2 separate regions of the Homo sapiens genome follow, and region 2 is linked to region 1. Evidence: promoter capture Hi-C in human tissues and cell types (Jung and others, 2019). All regions are on one chromosome and are shown on one strand. The core of a region is centred on a gene start or on the middle of the fragment in contact, and the rest is flanking DNA. Distances in the headings are between cores, read along the strand shown. Region 1 holds the start of LPCAT2 (lysophosphatidylcholine acyltransferase 2). Region 2 holds the start of LOC105371279 (a long non-coding RNA gene).

Region 1 (4,327 bases), core at 691-3,190:
ATTCCATTATACTATAACTCTCAGAGAGTTATTTGGAAGAGATCTTTAAACAGTAACAAACCAGGTGATGGAAAAACTTAATAATTTATTATAGGTGCAATATAAATATTTGTCAACATTCCATGCTGTTTCTTTCCAAAATATGAAGTCAAATAGATGGGCATATTTTCATTTAAGTATGATTTAATTAAATCAGACTAAATTTAATCTTGAACAATGGTCTATGTATTTACAAATGTTTCAGAATGTGAAGACACAAAAAGAATATCTATTAATTTAAAGACATGAGGATCACATTTTTAAACGTTTAATTTCCTCACAAAGCAGTATTACTACATTCTTTATCTTCTTCCTCTCTCACACCCCTCTTCAACCAGACACCCATCTACCATTACTCAAGCCACCACCTGTGTTGTTTAGCTCTGCACTTAACCTTCCCCCACTGTAGAGGACAATGGTCTTAGTGCATACAAGCTGATTGCAAATATTATACTGCTTCAAATCCAAAGTAATGTGTGAGATGGACATGAAAACTTCAAAATTGTTCCCCCACCCCCCCAACCCCCGCAGAACACACGGACAAATGTGGTTAGCAGGGTCTATCTTGTTCTCTGATCACTAACTTCAACAAAGAGGAAGTCCAAAGAGTGCAACTGCCAATGGTAAAAGGAACCCTTTACAAGAAAAAGGAAAGGAAAGGAAACTTCCTTTGTGCATAACAGTATAGCCATTTTTAACAATGGAAAACAGCCTGGGCTACTACTTCTCATGCTTCAACTTAGGAAACGTTTTTAGGTGAAGACTGATTCTGGACCAAAACTTCTTGAACATCCTAAGCTGACTCAGTTGTCCCTTTTCTTTGATTCTGACTTCCCACCCTCCATCATGCTCCTGCTCAGCTAAATCTTTCCAGCCTTACCTGTTGTTCTAACCACAGACCTAGGCTCTCTGCCTTCTGCCTCACTCTTATCCATCCCATACTGACTCCTCTCCTTCCTAAGGCAAAAAAAAAAAAAAAAAGACTTCTTCAAATCTACTCTCCCGTAGTAGATCTGCCTCCCACTACACTCTCATAAACTCAAGTTGAAGCTTCTGTCACAGATTCACAGATTCCTTCAACCTTCTGGGGCATGGAATGTAGCCTGCGCCACCAGCCAGCTCAGTCTCTTCCTGTTTTGGATTCTCCTCTCAGGCCCGCATCTTCCCAGCATCTTCTCTCCTCCCGTGCCCGCTCAGACCATCCTCTAAATGTCCTCAATTCTCAGACACACATCTCCGCCCCTTTCAGGCTCACGGCCCCTCAGAAGTCCTCTCCTCTCAGATCCACTGCTCTTTCTTCCTCTGATGCCTTTGCTTCCCAGACCCACAACGCCCCTCAGACCCACGCGCCCCTCGACCGCCCTCCCCCGTCAGACCTACACCAGTCACCTGGACCCGCCCCAGACCCTGGCTCCCCTCGGGCCACCTCCCTCCTCAGACCCATGCCCCCTTCAGGCCACCTCCCTCCTCAGACTCTCGCCCGCCTCGGACCACCTCACTCCCTCAGACCCACGCCCCCCTCGGCCGCCCTCCTCTCTCAGACCCACACCCCTTACCTGGACCCCCCTCTGACCTAGGCCCCCCTCAGACCACCTCTCCCCTCAGACCCACGCCCCTCACCTGGACCCGCCTCGCGGAGCCGATCTGCGTCTGCTGCACGAAGGGGTTCGGCACCGGCGGCGGGAAGAAGGACGCCTGACGGGGCACCATGGGCGGCCGCAGCCCCACGTTCCCGACGCCGGCACCTGGCACTGTGGCCGCCACTTCCGCCGCCTGGGCGCACCGGCTCATAGTTGAGCCGGGCGTAGAACCCGGCCGAAGCGATCTACGCGGGCGCTGCAGCCAAAACTGAGCCGAAGACCTACTAGAGTCCCAGCCTAGGGCGACGCTGGGGAGCCTCTGCGCAGGCGCTGAAGTTACTTAGACGCCTGCTGCTGCCGCCCTGCCCCTTCGGCTGTGACACGCCCCAGGCTCTGGCCACACCCCCTCAGGCATCTGGCTCCACCCCCTTGGTAATATAGTCCATCCCCTCGGAGGGGAATGTTTTCCTTCCGAGCCAAGACCCTGAAGGGTACCCCAGGATCCCTAACATTCCACAGCGAGACACTAGGCAGAGTTCCCTGCTTTAGGGTCGGACGGACCTGGATTTTCAATCCCTTTTACTGGGCCTGTGACGCTGGCCAAATCACTATCTCTATGAACCTCGGTTGCCTTCCGTAAAATGCAGATAAATGTATTCTCAGATAATCCTAACCTGGATCCAGTAATGCCATTGAGCAACCACTTCCCCTGGGCTGTTCCATTAAGTGAGCTAATATTAATACACCCATGATGGCACTAGGAGTGGAATTTGTTTCACTCAAAACATAATGGACTGACAGGGGAGAGATGGTTCTCCAGAGGAAAACTGAGCTACTATTACCAGAAAAGGCAAAAATTACAGTTGCCCTCCACGCTAGATGAGGAACCTGACCCAGAAAAGGGAAATGTATTGGGCTGTGGCTCCCTTTCACACTGAGGAAGTTCAAGCCTGTTTGGACCTATGTGGGTGCTCGTGGGGGTGGGAGGGCAGGGGTTTGTCCCATTATCTGAGGACAGTTGATCAACCCTGAGTGGCTGAGAGTTAAAGGAAGGAGATGATAATCAACTCATCCCAACTGATCAACTCTTCTCACAGCAGGTAGGAAGGCCAGGATGAAAATCTGAGTCTGAGCCCTGGGGTTCTCCAAAGTTACCCTCTGAATGTCAGAATCTTCCAGCCCTACCACATAGATGTGTGGCCTTGAGTCAGTCACTTAACCTGAGTTTGCTTCCTTGTCTAGGAATGGGAGATTCATTCTAACTCCATAGAATTGTAGCAAGGATTAAATAAAATAATGCATGTGTAGTGTTCATAGAGAAACACTGAAGAAATGGCATGTTTTAAGCATTATTATGTTGTGGAGCCACTGACTTTTCTCTCAGTGTAACAGGGAACATTAATAACAGTGCATTACAGCCATGATAGAAGATTCCCCAGTCTAGGGGGTCTTCAAGTTGGGACTGGCAGACCCTTGAGACTCTTTAGCCAGATACCTGCACAGAAAGATGTCTTTCCAACTGTCAACAACCTAAGCCAGGCCAGGTGCAGTGGCTCACGCCTGTAATCCTAGCACTTTGGGGGCTGAGGAGGGTGGATCCCTTGAGCCCAGGAGTTCGAGACCAGCCTGGGCAACAAAGAGAGACTCCACCATCTCTAAAAAAAATTAAAAATTAGCTGGCTGTGCTGTTGCATGCCTGCAGTCCCAGCTACTCAGGAGGCTGAAGTGGGAGGATTGCTTGAGCCCAGAAGATCAAGTCTGCAGTGAGCTATGATCATGCCATTGCACTCCAGCCTGGGTGACAGAGAAAGACACTGTCTCAAAAAAGAAAAAAAAAGAAGAAGAAGAAACAAAAAGAATCTGAGTCAAGGGGACAGGCCATGGGAGGATAAAAGATAGAAAAGATGGGGCCGAGAGTGGTGGCTCACACCAATAATCCTAGCACTTTGGGAGGCCGAGATGGGTGGATTGCCTGATCTCAGGAGTTCGAGACCAGCCTGGGCAACACGGTGATACCTGTCTCTACCAAAATACAAAACAAATTAGCTGGGTATGGTGGCGTGCACCTGTAATCCCAGCTACTTGGGAGGCTGAGGCAGGAGAATCACTTAAACCTGGGAGGCAGAGGTTACAGTGAGCCGAGATTGCGCCATTGCACTCCAGCCTGGGTGACAGAGTGAGACTCCATCTCAAAAACAGAAAAAAGAGATAGAAACAATGACATCAGGCTCACTGAGGAGGTCACCTGTAGAGTTCACTCCTTACGCACCTTCCTCACCAGCCCCATCATAAGAGGCCAGAAGCAATATATATACTATCAATCAGACTATCGGAGCCAGAAAGGGCCTCAGAAAAACCCCAGGCCTTCAATTTCTGTTCAGCAGTAGCTCCAGAATTTCTATGTAGGAGATTAGGAGTGGGTAGACTGGTAGGAAGGAGTAAGGAGCTTATCCATTAATACCAGCTGTGTTTAGAAGCAAGCACAGTATTTCTCCCTTAGCTGTGTTTACCCAGCGTGGTTTTGGGGGTGGTGGAGGGTAGCAGGAGCGGTTTTGAAGGTGGTGGGGGTGTTTTTGAGGGTGGCGGAGGGTGGTGAGATTCTGGTTTGAGAGCTAAAGCTCCTCTGCTAGGCTATCCTTTGGCCTTGTAGGTCCCTAATAGCTATGGGACCCTGGAAAAATCACTTCTCTTGAGCCATCAGTCTCTTC
Region 2 (4,811 bases), core at 2,280-4,779, 140 kb after region 1:
ACACTCTCTTTTCAAATATTGTTTTCCTTGGGGTGTTTTTTTTTTTTTTTTTTGCAATTTAAAGTTTGTCCCATGGAATGATACATTCCCATCTTCCATCATGTATTGTTATTGGGACAGAGAACATTAATTATACTATATCCAGCTCAATAAATGTTGACTATCCTATGCTGGGGGTGACACAAAGAATTTTTTTTAATGAGCCAGAAATCAGATTAGAGGAAGGCCTTTCACTTACCATCTTTTTCTTAAAAGGGCTAGCTCGAACCAACATTCTGACTACTCAGCATCCGTTGGAAATCGTATCCTTCGATTTCAATCTTCGGTTACAGCCAAGAAACTATTCTGAGAAGTTCTCAGCAGTCATGACTAACCCCAAAGCAAGATTTCCATTTTCCCCCCAATGCCCTAATTGAATTTAGGGGTCGGTTATGTTTTGCATAGGCATCTACCCCACATCAAGGGCAGGCATTCAAAAAGAGTCTTATGGAGTGGATCAGATAAATATGGGCTGCAAATGTGCTGATTTACCCCAGCTTGTAAAACAAAACAATTTACGTACACAATTTAAACATTCTTTCTAGTTTTTCACAAACCACATCCCTTGGGTGTATAATTGAGATTTCCTTGCCACCCAGAAGATAGTGAGCTAGTCCGCCGGGCTTTGTTCCCCTTCTGCGGGAGGGCGGCTGGCGCTGTGAGCTGCTGCTTAGAAACGAGAGGCCGGCAGCTTTGGATTCGCGGCTGTCAGATGCTGGACCGGGCCGGCAACGCTAGAGTGCAGGCTGACATAAGGATTACGGATGTGCTGCAGCCAGCCTGACGGAAAAGGCAGAAGCCTCTGCCAATAGAGGTGTTGTCTGTTACCTTCTTTATTTAGGCTTCGGGAGAGAAACCGGAGCCGAAGTAGGTAGAGGGAAGGAGGACACGTTTGATGCTCAAAGACCCCTGCCAGCTTGAGTCACATTGCCATGAGCCGGCTATCCGTATAAGATGCAAAAGCAGCAGCCGGAAAGGCATGCTTTTCTACCTTGGTTCTCCCTCGGTAGAGCCCTGGAGGAGGGGATGTAGATCTTCCCGTAGGTGAGGCTGCGATCTGTCCAAGGATCTAAAATCTACTTCAATAATCAGGGACCTGGGCACCTTTCCCCTAATTGATGTCGGAATAACTATAGTAAGGTGATCCAACCTAACCATCCATCAGTAAGAGAATGAGAGAGAAATAAAAGAATAAAGGAAGTGACAGAATCACATAGTGGAATACTACATCACAGTTAAAAGGAACGAACTAGGTTGACAGTTGGAAAAAGCAAGTTGTAGAATTTCACAAAGACACCAAGTGCTACTCCCCATGGCTTCTGGATTCCTCTAGATGTAGTGAAAGTACAGAAATGAAGGCAAGAAGGAAACATACAACATTTAGTCCAGCCGCTGGAGAAGGAGGAAGGGAAAGAGAAGGCTAAGATAGAGACGGGACAAAAGAAACTTCGGATTTATGTGCATTGTTTCATTTTTACTAAACTAATCTGGAGCAAATACGGCTTTTAAAAGACACGTTTTTCTTTCTGTTTTGTGGGATCTTGTTCGTTTGCATTGTTCTCAGTACTTTTTGTATTTACAGTGGTTAATTTTAAAGAAAAATAATTGGAAATATGAGTGTAAACCACAGACAGATGCTCACTTTCAACACAGCTCCGGTGTTGGGTCCATAAGCCCCCAAGTCAGAATACAGCTGAAAAGTTGTAGAAGTCAGTCACCTTTATAATTTTAAATGGCACCATTTGGGTGTAATTGAGTCTCTTTTCTCCCCCTCCATCCCCGCCCCTCTCCTTTTAGTCAAATTAAACTTATTGATTAGAGCCCATTAGTATGTAATGGATTGTTAATTTGACTCTTTTTACAAATCATATTTATCTGCACCAATAAAATATTTGGATTTAATATTCATATGTCACATTTATGGTGATGTTGATTGAGGGCCAAGCAATTTGAAGTGAAAGCAGACACTCCGTCCTTTATTCACACAAGGGAAATGCACAATTAGCTCCATGCACTCCTCCAGAGGTGAGAAACTTAAATATAAAGAAAATTAGAGAAAAGGAGAGAAACGTGCCCCCCCCCCGCCTTTTTTGCAGACATGAAAGAAACTCCATATAGTGTTTACACATTATTCAGCAATGGACTAGAATTGGTGCATCCTCCTCGTGTGTTACTCAAGTTATTTATAATGTGGTTGCAAAATCCCAGCTAGGAACAAAAAGTCAGATTTTTGGTAAACATCGATTAAGCTGTGGCCTCTTGTACTCATTTCTCCTATAGAGGAAAATAGAGCCCCAAGAAAGATCACGTCCTTGCCTCCTTTTGCTGGTAGAGGGCACTTAACAGTCAGATGCTTAAAGGGAAAACATGAATATATTTTATGTGCATTTGAAATAGATATTAACTGAATGCTGCAGGTGATATGGCAGCTGGGAATGCAGGAGAAAAATACTGAAAACTGCTGCCATTTATTGAGTGCCTATTCTCTGCCTGGCTCCTGGAATAATGATAACAATATTTAACATATAATACAGCATGAGCATCATCCAGTTGGAGTGGATGCCAGCCGAAAACACAACTGGTAAGCTTTAGTGGTGCACCAGCCAAGTTTTCAGCCCTGCTTGCTTCTGGAACAGGAAATGCTACGTTTAAGTTTGTTTAATGCTCAATTAAAGGAGCTGCATTCGCCCGGGCTGCTAATGCATTTGATTATTTCTTTTCTCTTTTTTTGTACTCTTAACGTTTTTTAAGTCTTAAAACATCTTGGCTTTTTTTGTTTGTTTGGTTGGTTGGTTTTTGCAAGCCACTTCAAACCTTTTGAGAAGCAGTCAGGGTATCCATTTTAAATAAATACATGATTTTCCTGATCCTGGCCAAATCTCATTACAAAGAAAACCGAGGCACCATCAGATTCCTTTGTTGCCCAGGGGGTTGTCCTATCAATATTGTATAAAGCAGTCAGGTCATTGGCTAGGCTTCAAATTCTTTTTTGTTATTTCGACCGTTTGGGGTAATACTTGTTGTAATGAGAGGCAATCTTTAAAAATAAAATTTCTTTTCATGAGGTTGGTACAAAAAGAGTCTTGCACAGTCGATGACTGACTGTGACAATATTTGGTCCATGGTCTTTGCAGACAAAGAGCTTGGCTGGTCATCATTAACGATGGTGCATGATTGCTACAACTTTTTTTGACAGTCTGCTTTCCGACAGAAACTATAAGCAGCCTATTGTCAACTCGTTTTACTGAGCTCAGGAAATTTCCATTTGTCACTTAACAGCCATGTGTCAGAAGCAAGATGCTTTGAACATGAATTGTGATTTCTTTCAGTTATCTTATGAGAATGCATGTTCTTTCCACTAGCGTGAAATGACCTAATTTTTGAAGTGGTAACCTTTATTAAAAAAAAAAACAATTAACATTCAAGTTTTCATATTTAATACCATCGTAAGTTTTTTTCCTCTAAGAAACCCAATCCCCTTCAAGGCAGTCATTATGCTAGATAAGTATGTGGTGAGCCAGGATATAGAGAGGAAGTGGGAAGTTTCCCTGGACTCAGCAGAAATTTGGTGTCAGAAGCAGAAATAGCCCCTTGTAAGCACATGGCTAATGGTTACATAGCTCTTCCTTTTCTGCATGGGTTCAAGGGGATAGATTTTTACACGAATATGTCATGGCTCCGGACTGAACTGTAAAATTCTAGAGGACAGGGAATAGAACCTATTTGTTTATTTCTCTCTCCAGGACCTAATGAAATAAGTATTTGTTGATTACATGGTAAATTTGGGGATTAGAAATGTCCTTAAAATCTTGATCAAGTTACTTCGAACTCTGGCAACACTTTTATCATATCTGGACTGAGTGTAATAATATTTTAAAGATTAATGAAATGTTGGGCAGCTCTTGTGCTATTTGGCTGTTGCAGGAACTGAGTCATAAGGCAAAAACATTTATAAAATACAAAATAATGATTTATACAGTAAGTTATACTCCCTCAGGCAAAGATGTTACATAAACCACAAGGTATTTGGCCACTGCAACACATGTAAGATGTCTTAAATACCATGAGATTTATAAATATTTTTAATAGTTAAATTTAACTTCGAAAGTTACCTAATATCCAATGAGGTTTGAGATTGGAACTTGTTTTTCTTTTTTGCATTTGAATGTGCTTCATTTAGGTTGATGCAAGCAAGTTAGTGTGGGTGCTTAATAGCATATCATAAAGGATTTAACTTAATTCCACCATAATGAATTAATTCTCTCAGTGACACTGTTTTCATTATAGATTTAATGACATCACCTTGGCCAACATTCAGGAATTCAGAACTCTAAGTTACCCTGAACTATCTAAAAACGAAAATGGAAAGATAATTCTGCTTCATGTCTGGTGTACTCCAACTGTGGATAAGGGTACGTAGAGAATGTCTATTATTTTGAGTAGTTGAGTTAAAAATAAAACTCCTAACACCAGTGAGGAAATTGGATTCCACATTCTCTTAAACTGTCCCAAGGGACATTCATTTTACAAAACATGAAACCAAGAAGAAGAAGAAAGCCCTAGTGTTTCTTTTCATTGGCTTATGTCATGATTATCTGTTGTAAACATAAAAGGATAAATATACAATCTGAAATCATAATTCAGGGACAAGTTTTCGCCAGCGAAGGAAAGGAGGAATGAGTGTAAAAATATTTATGCTGCATTTTCAAGGACTGTGTTTAATTTCCTTTTGGATTTGTTTATTTTGTGGAATTAGAGGGATGTTGCATCCT

The links. The method cuts DNA at HindIII sites, captures the fragments that hold promoters and counts their contacts. A contact is called where the count stands out against the background at its distance.
Region 2: a contact is called between a fragment that was not itself captured here and the fragment with the promoter of LPCAT2 in region 1, in 1 of the 25 tissues and cell types used here (aorta).

The regions. Positions count from the first base shown.
Region 1 is chr16:55,506,685-55,511,011 of GRCh38, reverse strand. LPCAT2 (lysophosphatidylcholine acyltransferase 2) reads right to left here and starts at 1,940. Exons shown (of 14, transcript NM_017839.5): 1 at 1,660-1,940. The coding sequence starts at 1,830. It overlaps MMP2 (matrix metallopeptidase 2), which reads right to left. Exons shown (of 13, transcript NM_004530.6): 13 at 4,321-4,327. The HindIII fragment of the contact is 8,978 bases long and covers 1-4,327 here.
Region 2 is chr16:55,367,195-55,372,005 of GRCh38, reverse strand. LOC105371279 (a long non-coding RNA gene) reads left to right here and starts at 2,441. Exons shown (of 3, transcript XR_933600.3): 1 at 2,441-2,620; 2 at 4,327-4,451. The HindIII fragment of the contact is 4,990 bases long and covers 1,035-4,811 here.